4 separate regions of the Homo sapiens genome follow, and regions 1, 3 and 4 are each linked to region 2. The links are contacts of gene promoters, found by promoter capture Hi-C in human tissues and cell types (Jung and others, 2019). All regions are on one chromosome and are shown on one strand. Each heading gives the region's core, a stretch centred on a gene start or on the middle of the fragment in contact. The rest is flanking DNA. Distances are from core to core; before and after follow the strand shown.

The links. The method cuts DNA at HindIII sites, captures the fragments that hold promoters and counts their contacts. A contact is called where the count stands out against the background at its distance.
Region 1: a contact is called between a fragment that was not itself captured here and the fragment with the promoter of PLXNC1 in region 2, in 1 of the 25 tissues and cell types used here (heart right ventricle).
Region 3: a contact is called between a fragment that was not itself captured here and the fragment with the promoter of PLXNC1 in region 2, in 1 of the 25 tissues and cell types used here (psoas muscle).
Region 4: a fragment that was not itself captured here is called in contact with the fragment with the promoter of PLXNC1 in region 2 in 1 of the 25 tissues and cell types used here (aorta).

Annotation. Positions count from the first base shown.
Region 1 is chr12:95,339,853-95,342,560 of GRCh38, forward strand. It overlaps LOC105369917 (a long non-coding RNA gene), which reads right to left. Exons shown (of 11, transcript XR_001749265.1): 10 at 521-637. Among named protein-coding and RNA genes, the nearest start is that of MIR3685, 31 kb to the left of the region's middle. The HindIII fragment of the contact is 3,015 bases long and covers 1-2,708 here.
Region 2 is chr12:94,147,313-94,150,012 of GRCh38, forward strand. It overlaps PLXNC1 (plexin C1), which reads left to right and starts at 1,265. Exons shown (of 31, transcript NM_005761.3): 1 at 1,265-2,700. The coding sequence starts at 1,660. RefSeq lists silencers at 1,032-1,161, 1,172-1,421, 1,492-1,721, 1,852-2,091 and an enhancer at 2,292-2,391. The HindIII fragment of the contact is 12,817 bases long and covers 1-2,700 here.
Region 3 is chr12:95,518,345-95,521,044 of GRCh38, forward strand. It overlaps USP44 (ubiquitin specific peptidase 44), which reads right to left. Exons shown (of 6, transcript NM_032147.5): 5 at 2,653-2,700; 6 at 1-9. Among named protein-coding and RNA genes, the nearest start is that of USP44, 32 kb to the right of the region's middle. RefSeq lists a silencer at 716-916. The HindIII fragment of the contact is 8,001 bases long and covers 1-2,700 here.
Region 4 is chr12:92,924,180-92,926,926 of GRCh38, forward strand. The region is part of intron 1 of EEA1 (early endosome antigen 1); the gene reads right to left. Among named protein-coding and RNA genes, the nearest start is that of EEA1, 3.7 kb to the right of the region's middle. The HindIII fragment of the contact is 4,849 bases long and covers 1-2,747 here.

The sequences.
Region 1 (2,708 bases), core at 49-2,548, 1.2 Mb after region 2:
GAAGGAGTCTCGCTCTGTCGCCCAGGCTGGAGTGCAGTGGCGGGATCTCGGCTCACTGCAAGCTCCGCCTCCCGGGTTCACGCCATTCTCCTGCCTCAGCCTCCCAAGTAGCTGGGACTACAGGCGCCCGCCACTACGCCCGGCTAATTTTTTGTATTTTTAGTAGAGACGGGGTTTCACCGTTTTAGCCGGGATGGTCTCGATCTCCTGACCTCGTGATCCTCCCGCCTCGGCCTCCCAAAGTGCTGGGATTACAGGCGTGCGCCACCGCGCCCGGCCGGCCACCTCAGTTTTAACAGAGTATTCAATTTTTAAATTCATTAGAGTAACAGTAAAGATAATGCAACAGTGTTAAATCTGCAGTTATAAGAAGACCTGAAGTCAAGGGTTATCCCAAGGTTGTGATTTAAGCTGAGCTATTTTGGTAGCCTTCTGTTGACCCTATGAATAATCCCCAAGTCATGCAAACATCATACACAACAGCCCAGTCAAAAGAGTCATTATATCTCAAAGCACATACCAAAAAAATTCCTGGGATTATATTGTGCCTTTGAACCAGAAGAGGACAATTGTTGCCCATGAATTTAGAAGCAGATACAATGTTATATTTGAGCAACCGAAAGGAATCCGAATGACTCTAAAAGAACAAAGAGTTGTAAAGATATTAAATTCCAGGCAACAAATCTTTTGCTTCATTCAGCAATATTTGCATCCTTGAACAAAAAATTTAAAACTCTATCCTCATTCCTACATTAGAAATGCCTTCATAAGCTCACCAAAGACCTCTGTATTGCCAAGACCAGTCGACATTTTCATGTTTCTAATATTACTTGACCTATTTATTTATTTAGATAGAGTCTCACTCTGTCGCCCAGGCTGGAGTGCAGTGGTGCAATGACGGCTCACTGTAGCCTTGCCCTACTGGGGCTCGGGTGATTCTCCCATCTCAGCCTCCCTAGTAGCTAGTGCCATAGGCACACATCACCACACATGGCTAAATTTTGTATTTTTTGTAGAGACAGGATTTCGCCATGTTGCCTAGGCTGGTCTGGAACTCCTGGGCTCAAGTGATCCACCTGCCTTCGCCTCCCAAAGTGCTGAGATTAAGGCGTGAGCCACTGCACCTGGCCTACTTGACCTCTTTATGACATTTGAAATTATTGAACAGTGTCTCCTCCAACTCTCTGCTGGGCTTCTATGGCCACTTTCTCTTCTGTCTTCTTTCTGTTTCTCTAGGTCTTGCTTCCTAGTCTTCATTTCATGAAGACTTTTTCTCTACTTGACCTCTAAATATCTATTGTACTAAAAGCTTGCATCTTGTCTCCTGCCATTCACTCTCTTCACACACTCTTTGGATAACGCATAATTCTAACTACTATTTATGTCTACCAAGTGACCAAATGTCTATCAAAGCTAGTGCTCTCCTCTGATCACCAGACCTGTGCGCTGACTTGCCTACTTCTTGATGTCTCTACATTGATGTCACTCAGGTACCTCAAACTCAACATGTCCCACCTGAAATTTTCATCTTTTTCTTCAAATGTTCTTATGGTGGATTGAAAATGGCTGTGTATTCTTTGCCACTCTACCCATCAAGAGATGGAAGGCTATTTCTGTTCCCATTGAATCTGGGCTGGCCTGTGACAGGCTTTGAAAAATGGCAGACTGTGTAACTTTTGAGGCCAGGCATTAAGAGATGTATAGTTTCCATCTTCACCTCTTGGAGTCTTCCTTCTTCAAACAGATGCCACGTTGTGGGGAAACCCGAGCAGCTATGTGGAGAGGCCTTCATAAGGAGAATGGGGCCCACTGGCTAACAGTCATAACTCAGCTCCCAATGGCAGTGGCACTGCCTGCCAGCCCTGTGAAGGAGGATATTTTTCAGCTGTACTCAAACTGTCCCAGCCAGTGCTACATGAAAGAGTCAGGCCATCCCTGCAGGGTCATAAATAAATATAGGTTGTTGTTTTTAAGCTTCCAAGTTTGTTTGTTTGTTTGTTTGTTTTTTGTTTTTTGCTTTTTTTTATAGAGACAGGGTCTCGCTATGTTGCCCAAGCTAATCTTGAGCTCCTGGGCTCAAGCAATCCTCCCACCTTGGCCTCCCAAAGTGCTGGCATTATAGGCCTGGGCCACCATACCCAGCCTGGGGTGGCTTGTTGTGCAGTAATAGATAACAAGACATTTCTTCTCCTCCTCCTCCTGAATTCTCTATCTCAAAAAATAGTGCTACTGTTCTAAGTGCCCAGGTGAGAAGCTGGAGATACCTTAAATTCTTCCTTCACTGACATATCAGATCTTATAGAGTCTCATTTCTAACTGTTACTCATACCCAGCATCCTTTTCCATTCCCACCCACTGTTACTGCCTAATCATTTCCCTCCTAGTTAAAAGCTTAACAGGTCTCTCTGTCACTTGGACCCTTTCCATACCATTCTTCCAAAATAAACAAAATAAACTTTCTAAAATACAAAAAAAACCTCTGCATGTCACTTGTCTGTTTAAGGTCCTTTAATGATGCTGGGTGTGGTGGCTCACGCCTTAATCCCAGCACTTTGGGAGGCTGAGGCAGGCGGATCATTTGAGGCCAGAAGTTCAAGACCAGCCTGGACAACATGGTGAAAACCTGTCTCTACTAGAAATACAAAAATTAGCTGGGCGTGATGGTGGGCGCCTGTAATCCCAGCTACTCGGGAGGCTGAGGCAGGAGA
Region 2 (2,700 bases), core at 15-2,514:
ATTCCCCAGTGGGCAATGATTCCCTGTGCTTCAGAAATTCTTGGCGGCTGTGGGGGCAACCCAGCTGTTATTCACCCTCTGGGTGAGGTGGTGAGACCTCAGGGGGTCCAAAGGATAAAAGTGGGTAATGATGAGACAGATGGAGAGCCTCGAGGGAAATACGGGGACTTGGGTCTAATAGTAGAAAGCAGGGCGGGGGCTGGTTGGTGCATTTAACTTGAGGAACTTTTCAGTCTCACTACAGAGAATGATCTCTGGGGGATTATGGCAATGGCCACAGGTGGCACTTAACTAGAGCCAGGTATGTAAGAGGCCCTGGGGCTAGATATGGATTCGAATCTCGGCTCTGATATCTACCAGCAGTAGAATGCCAGCACGTTCCACAACCTTTCTATAACCATTCTCCTGGACTACTAAGTAGGGATGACAATAACAGTCACTAATTAATAGGGCTGTTATGAGAATTATGAGTCTTAACCCATGTGGTGAGTTCACAAGCGCACCCGGCACGTAGTAAGTGCTCAGTAAATGTTAGCCCCGCTCATTAGGTTAGATGGTGAGCAGAACTTTCCAAGTGCTAGGCTTGAGAGCCTGGGACTCTGTTGCCAAGGGAGATTAGAGAACCTTTGCAAATATGGGCGCTCCGGCCCTGGGGATTGTCCAGAACGAGAGTGTGGCGCCTGCCTTTCTGCCACCTCACTCATCCGACCCGGGGAAACCCACACCCTGTCACAGGGGCGCCTTGGTCCCCGGAGTCTCCGGCTCGGCCATGTCTCCCGCGCGCCTCCCCGGGGCCTCCCTCTCGCCGCTCCACACCTGTCAGCCGCTCTCGCAGCAGCCCTGTGGCCCGAGCCCGGGGCCTCAGCTGCAACCCCTTCGCACCCTGGATCCTCGCTCCGCGCGCCTGGCGTATCCCCGACCCGGCTGCTGTCGTAAACAAAACCGGGCGTTGGAGCAGCACCGCGGGCGGACGGGCGCGGGAGCCCGCTCCGTGCGCCGTTAGCGCGCCCCGGGAGCCCCAGGCGAGCCAAGGGGGCGATGGTGGCGGCCGCGGCGGCCGCGGCGGGCGGCTGAGCTTTGTTATGAATAGATGAAAGAGGCCACCTACACAGTAACCCAAATTACGAGACCTCCCTCCTCCCTATCTCACCGAATCAAGAGGGGAGGGGAGATGGGCGTGGAGGGAGGGCGGGCGGGCGGGCAGGAGGCGGAGGGCGGAGGAGGAAGAGAGGATGAGGAAGGGGGCCAGTTGCATCCCACTTTCACAATGGGAAAGTGAAACGCACAAGCGCACCCAACCTCTCCAGCCCTCCCCGCCCGCCTCGCTCCTCTCCGCCCGTCCCCTCCCTTCCCCTCCGCGCCTCCCCGCGAGCGCCAGCGCTGCACACAGGAACTCTCCGGCGAAGGAGGGCGAGGAGGAAACGGTGCCGGAGCGCGCAGGGCTTGCTGCCGCCACCGCCGCTGCACAGGCTGCCGGAGCGAGCCTGCCGCGCGCCGCCCTCCCCGCTCTCCTTCCTGGGCGAGCTGCGGGGATGGGGCGGCCGCGGGAGCCCGAGCGCGCGCAGGAACCGCCGCCGCCGCCGCCCGCGTCTCCGTTGCCGCGCGCCTGAGCCGCCGTCGCCGCCGCGCGCCCTGCCCGGGGGCGGCCCCCCCAGCCCCATGGAGGTCTCCCGGAGGAAGGCGCCGCCGCGCCCCCCGCGCCCCGCAGCGCCACTGCCCCTGCTCGCCTATCTGCTGGCACTGGCGGCTCCCGGCCGGGGCGCGGACGAGCCCGTGTGGCGGTCGGAGCAAGCCATCGGAGCCATCGCGGCGAGCCAGGAGGACGGCGTGTTTGTGGCGAGCGGCAGCTGCCTGGACCAGCTGGACTACAGCCTGGAGCACAGCCTCTCGCGCCTGTACCGGGACCAAGCGGGCAACTGCACAGAGCCGGTCTCGCTGGCGCCCCCCGCGCGGCCCCGGCCCGGGAGCAGCTTCAGCAAGCTGCTGCTGCCCTACCGCGAGGGGGCGGCCGGCCTCGGGGGGCTGCTGCTCACCGGCTGGACCTTCGACCGGGGCGCCTGCGAGGTGCGGCCCCTGGGCAACCTGAGCCGCAACTCCCTGCGCAACGGCACCGAGGTGGTGTCGTGCCACCCGCAGGGCTCGACGGCCGGCGTGGTGTACCGCGCGGGCCGGAACAACCGCTGGTACCTGGCGGTGGCCGCCACCTACGTGCTGCCTGAGCCGGAGACGGCGAGCCGCTGCAACCCCGCGGCATCCGACCACGACACGGCCATCGCGCTCAAGGACACGGAGGGGCGCAGCCTGGCCACGCAGGAGCTGGGGCGCCTCAAGCTGTGCGAGGGCGCGGGCAGCCTGCACTTCGTGGACGCCTTTCTCTGGAACGGCAGCATCTACTTCCCCTACTACCCCTACAACTACACGAGCGGCGCTGCCACCGGCTGGCCCAGCATGGCGCGCATCGCGCAGAGCACCGAGGTGCTGTTCCAGGGCCAGGCATCCCTCGACTGCGGCCACGGCCACCCCGACGGCCGCCGCCTGCTCCTCTCCTCCAGCCTAGTGGAGGCCCTGGACGTCTGGGCGGGAGTGTTCAGCGCGGCCGCTGGAGAGGGCCAGGAGCGGCGCTCCCCCACCACCACGGCGCTCTGCCTCTTCAGAATGAGTGAGATCCAGGCGCGCGCCAAGAGGGTCAGCTGGGACTTC
Region 3 (2,700 bases), core at 42-2,541, 1.4 Mb after region 2:
CCCAGAACCCTAGAGTGAAGCACAGAAATACATTTATGAAGGGACTTTAGAAAATTCTAGTATGAAAGGCATTGAGTGAGAAGCTTTTTCTGAAGGGAAAATAATTTTCTAGCCAATTCATTTTTCTTTAATGAGAAATATAGATTGGGCAGTGTTACCCTGGAATTATCTACCTTTATTCTAAAAGTAGCTTAAGTTTTTCACAGCATGTGACTGATTAGAGTACCTGACACTATTTATTCTTTGTGTAAATCTACCAGTTAATGCTTTTGCCACTAATCATACAGGATGATCATCCCTAATTCCAAAATCTGGCCAGGCATGGTGGCTCATGCCTGTAATCCTAGCACTTTGGAAGGCCGAGGCAGGCAGATCACCTGAGGCCAGGAGTTAGAGACCAGCCTGGCCAACATGGTGAAACCTGTCTCTACTAAAAATACAAAAATTCGCCAGGCGTGGTGGTGCACACCTGAATTCCCAGCTACTCAGGAGGCTGAAGCAAGAGAATGGCTTGAACCTGGGAGGCAGAGGTTGCAGTGAGCAAGGATGGCGCAGCTTGCCCTCAAGCCTGGGTGATAGAGGGACTGTCTTAAAAAAAAAAATTCCAAACCAAAACTTTTTGTGCCAACATGATGTCATAAGTAACCCTGAACACATTTTTTTCCACTGTATTAATATTTTTTACTGTGAAACTTATGGGCACATAAGCATAATGCACTTATGTACATTACATGCACATAAGTATGCTAATGACTGCTTATATTAGCATATAAAAATCAGCCAGGAATTATGGTGATGCCAAACCACCAGACTGTCCATATGAGTGGCTGAGATAGTGACACCTTTGTTTGCTGATTGCTCAATGTACAAACTTTGTTATATGCACTCTGTTAATGAAACTGTTTCATTATTTAAAGTGTTGTATAAAATATTTAGGCTATGTGTACAAGGTGTATATGAAGCAAATGAATTTCATGTCTAAACCTGGGTCCCATCCTTACAATACCTCATAATGTCTATGCAAAAAAATCCAAAATTCAAAACACTTATGGTCCCGAGCATTTCAGACAAGGTATACTCAATCTGTATTTTTTTTTTTTTTTTTTTTTTTTTGAGATGGAGTCTCGCTCTGTCACCCAGGCTGGAGTACAGTGGCGCAGTCTCGGCTCACTGCAAGCTCCGCCTCCCGGGTTCACGCCATTCTCCTGCCTCAGCCTCTCCGAGTAGCTGGGACTACAGGCACCCGCCACCACGCCCGGCTAATTTTTTTTTTTTATTTTTAGTAGAGACGGGGTTTCACCGTGGTCTCGATCTCCTGACCTCGTGATCCACCCGCCTCGGCCTCCCAAAGTGCTGGGATTACAAGCGTGAGCCACCGCGCCCGGCCCTCAATCTGTATTAAAAGGCAAATTGGGTCGGGCATGGTGGCTCACGCCTGTAAACCCGGCACTTTGGGAGACCAAGGCTGACAGATCACTTAAGGCCAGGAGTTCAAGACCAGCCTGGCCAACATGGTGAAACCCCGTCTCTACTAAAAATACAAAAATTAGCCAGGCGTGGTGGTGCACACCTGCAATCCCAGCTACTTGGGAGGCGGAGGTTGCAGTGAGCCGAGATCATGCTGCTGTACTCTAGCCCAGGGGAAAGAGTGAGACTCTGTCTCAAAAAAAAAAAAAAAAAAAAAAAAAAAAAGCCAATAGTGTACAATTAACTTGGTAGTTTTTGGTAGCTCAGTGTTGAGTTACCCTGGTGGATTATTGGGCTTCTTGTCCTCACCTCTCTTTTTCTGTTTGGGCTGTGTTGGGTGGGGGTGGGGAGTTGGAGTTTCATTCTTTGTTCAACAGTAAGTATCAAAAGGGGAAGTAAGGCTGGGTGTGGTGGCTCATGCCTGTAATCCCACCACTTTGGGAGGCCGAGGCAGGCGCATCACAAGGTCAGGAGATTGAGACCATCCTGGCTAACATGGTGAAACCCCGTCTCTACTGAAAATACAAAAAATTATCCAGGCATGGTGGCATGTGCCTGTAGTCCCAACTACTTGGGAGGCTGAGGCAGGAGAATTGCTTGAACCCGGGAGGCAGAGGTTGCAGTGAGCTGAGATCGTCCCACTGCACTCCAGCCTGGGCGACAGAGCGAGACTCCATCTCACAAAAAAAAAAGGTGTTGGGGGGAGTAAAAAATAAAATCTCAATCCAATCACTTTTGCTAGAACTAGACTATCCTAGAAGGCAGAAAATAAGTGAGTTTTGTGTGTTAAACTTGAACGCAGTGTTTGTTCCAAATATCTATGATCCCCCAGTTCATTAGGTACCCTATTTCTTTAACGAAATTAACTGAAGTAAACCAGTAAACATACGATCTGCTTTTTGAAGTGTGTCTTTAAGAAAAGTTAACACTCTGACTTTTAGTTAGCAACAAGACTATCCTCATTATTATATCCCTCCAGCCCTTAGTCAAAAGTACTGCAAAACCTACAGAAAATATTTCATGCATTAACTCTCATTTTTTAGTACCTGCAGAGGCATTCTCCCTAAGAAAATAAGTGGTCGAGTAGCTTTGTTTATGATTTAGTAGTCAATTTAGAAATCGGTTAAAGCCTGAACTCCAGCCTCCAAGTCCAACCCAAGATAAAATACTTTTTCTTATCTATACCTCCTTCAGAATTATAGCAGTAGGCAGTGTAGTGCCCTGAGCCAAATC
Region 4 (2,747 bases), core at 39-2,538, 1.2 Mb before region 2:
AGCAGCAGCTAACATTTAAGACTTTTTTTTTTTTTTTTTTTTTTTGGGATGGAGTTTTGCTTGTTGCCCAGGCTGGAGAGTGCAATGGCACAATCTCGGCTCACTGCAATCTCAGCCTCCCAGGTTCAAGCAGTTCCCCTGCCTCAGCTTCCCTAATAGCTGGGATTACAGGTGCCCGCCACCACGCCCAGCTAATTTTTTCTATTTTTAGTAGAGACGGGGTTTCACTATGTTGGCCAGGCTGGTCTCAAACTCCTGACCTCAGGTGATCCACCCACCTCAGCCTCCCAAAGTGCTGGGATTACAGGCATGAGCCACCGCGCCTGGCTGAGACTTTTATACATATTAGTTATCTAGTTCTCAACTTTATAAGGAGGCTAGTATTATTACAACTATTTTACTGAGACACAGAGAAGTAACTTCTCCAAAACTACACAGATAGTAAATGAAACAGGATACAAACCCAGGTAGTCTGGCATCAGAGTTCATGTTCTTAACTACTAAATTACATTATTTCTTTAGCTCAAGCAAAAGGCCACTGGAATTAGAGAAGAAAATTGAGTACTAGCCCTGGTTCTTTTCATTTCTTAACGTCTTCTTTATTCTTAGTTCTAGTCCTGGTTCTTTAATATCTTAATCTCTTCTTTATTCCTAACATGCTAAAAAAAAAAAAAAAAAAAAAAAAAACTACTCAAAAAGAAAATCATTCCATTAGCTGTCACTTTTTAAAATTCACTTCAATAAATTAGCAATACTTTCATCAAACTTAGATGGGCAACTAATCTGGGAAGCCTTCCCAACATCTAAAACCAGGGCCCTCTTGCTGGGTGTTCTTGGGGCATCCTGAGTTTGTCCTTCCTAGAACTCATTCAAGAGTATAGTTGTATGAATCTCTGAACAATTCCTCTCTCTTCCACTGGACGCTAAACTCCACAAAAAATTCATGACTACTTTACCCATCATTGTCTGCACAGCACACAGTTGGCCCACAAAAGATGTCTCAAAAAAAAAAAAAAAAACACTAATCACAGTTTTTTTGTTTTGTTTTGTTTTGTTTTTAACACAGGGTCTCACTCTGTTGCTGGAGTGCAGTGGCACGATCTTGGCTCACTGCAACCTCTGCCTCCCAGGTTCAAGCAATTCTCCCACCTCAGTCTCCCAAGTAGTTGGGACTACAGGCGTGCACCACGATGCCCGGCTAATTTTTGTATTTTTTGGTAGTGACGGGGTTTCACCACATTGACCAAGCTGGTCTCGAACTCCTGATCTCAGTGATCTGCACGCCTCGGCTTCCCAAAGTGATGGAATTACAGGCATGAGCCACTAAGCCAGCCCACAGTAAGTTATAATACTTAAGAAAGAAATGGCAACAAGGTTTACAAGCTGCCTAAGGTACTAAACGTTGATTAAATTTCTAACCATCAAGTACTTTAAATTCATGTTTTTCTTTGAAGGACTATTAAGTAAAATATTCAATACATACATATTGGAGCTACTTCACTTTGGTTTTGTTTTGAGGTTTTTTTGTTTTTGTTTTCCAGCTTCTTTCAAGCCTCAGAGAAACACCTTAGTAAGCTAATGAAAAAGGAGGAGCAGGAGGAGGGACAAAAGCAGGAGAACCAGAAACCAAATTTCCGTAAAGTATCCTGAGACTTATTGATGATGTTCAAACACTTTGAGTTCTAATTGATGGTAAGCAGTTTGTCTGTTTCTTCTTTTAAAAAATGCTATTTAAAGGAAACTATTCAGAAGAAAATAAGAATAGTTAAAATGAAAAGTTCATCTAAAAACAAAATGCTAAAGGAATGCCACATAATTTTTTTTTTTTTTTTAGACGGAGTTCCGGTCTTGTTGCTCAGGCTGGAGTGCAATGGAGCAATCTCAGCTCACTGCAATCTCCACCTCCCGGGTTCAAGTGATTCTCCTACCTCAGCCTCCTGAGTCGCTGGGATTATAGGCATGCACCACCACTCCCGGCTAATTTTGTATTTTTAGTAGAGTCAGGGTTTCTCCATGTTGGTCAGGCTGGTCTCGAACTCCCGACCTCAGGTGATCCGCCCGTCTCGGCCTCCCAAAGTGCTGGGATTACAGGAATGAGCCACTGCACCCAGCCAAGGAATGCCACATAATTTCAAAGCACAGAGTCCATTTCAAATAAATCTCTAAATTAACAATAGCTTTAATCTTATAGCTTAATATCTGTGCTGAGAAATAAGATTAGCAGGGAGGGGTAAAATAGGTTGCCATGTTACACAATTTAAAGATTCAAGTTATACTTGTTGGTAAATACCACTTGTAGAGTTAATAAAATATATATTCTACCTTCTAAACTAGTAAATCACCAGATTTAAGACATTTATCAAAATGTCCCTATTAAATACTCAGCATTAACACTGACCCAACTACAAGATAAAAGCTGAACTCCTTCAAAGGGACTCTTACGTCCTCTCACAATTTGGTCTCTAGCCACCACGGTAGCTTCATCTCTTACTAATTGCTACAGACCATCTCACTTCCTAAGCTTCATTGTTCACACTCCTCACAGTACTACCTGCGCCTTTTATGACTCCATCTCTTTGCATTTGCTGTTCCCTCTGCCTGACATGCCCTTCCCTCTTCTGAGCTGTGAATATGCCCCCGTCCCTGAAGCTTTTCCTAATTGCCCTCACCTCCCACAGAGTGCCTCCTGGGTCCTCTGTCCTCTTCATTATTCTATTACATAGCACTGTCATTACTTTTAAATGTTC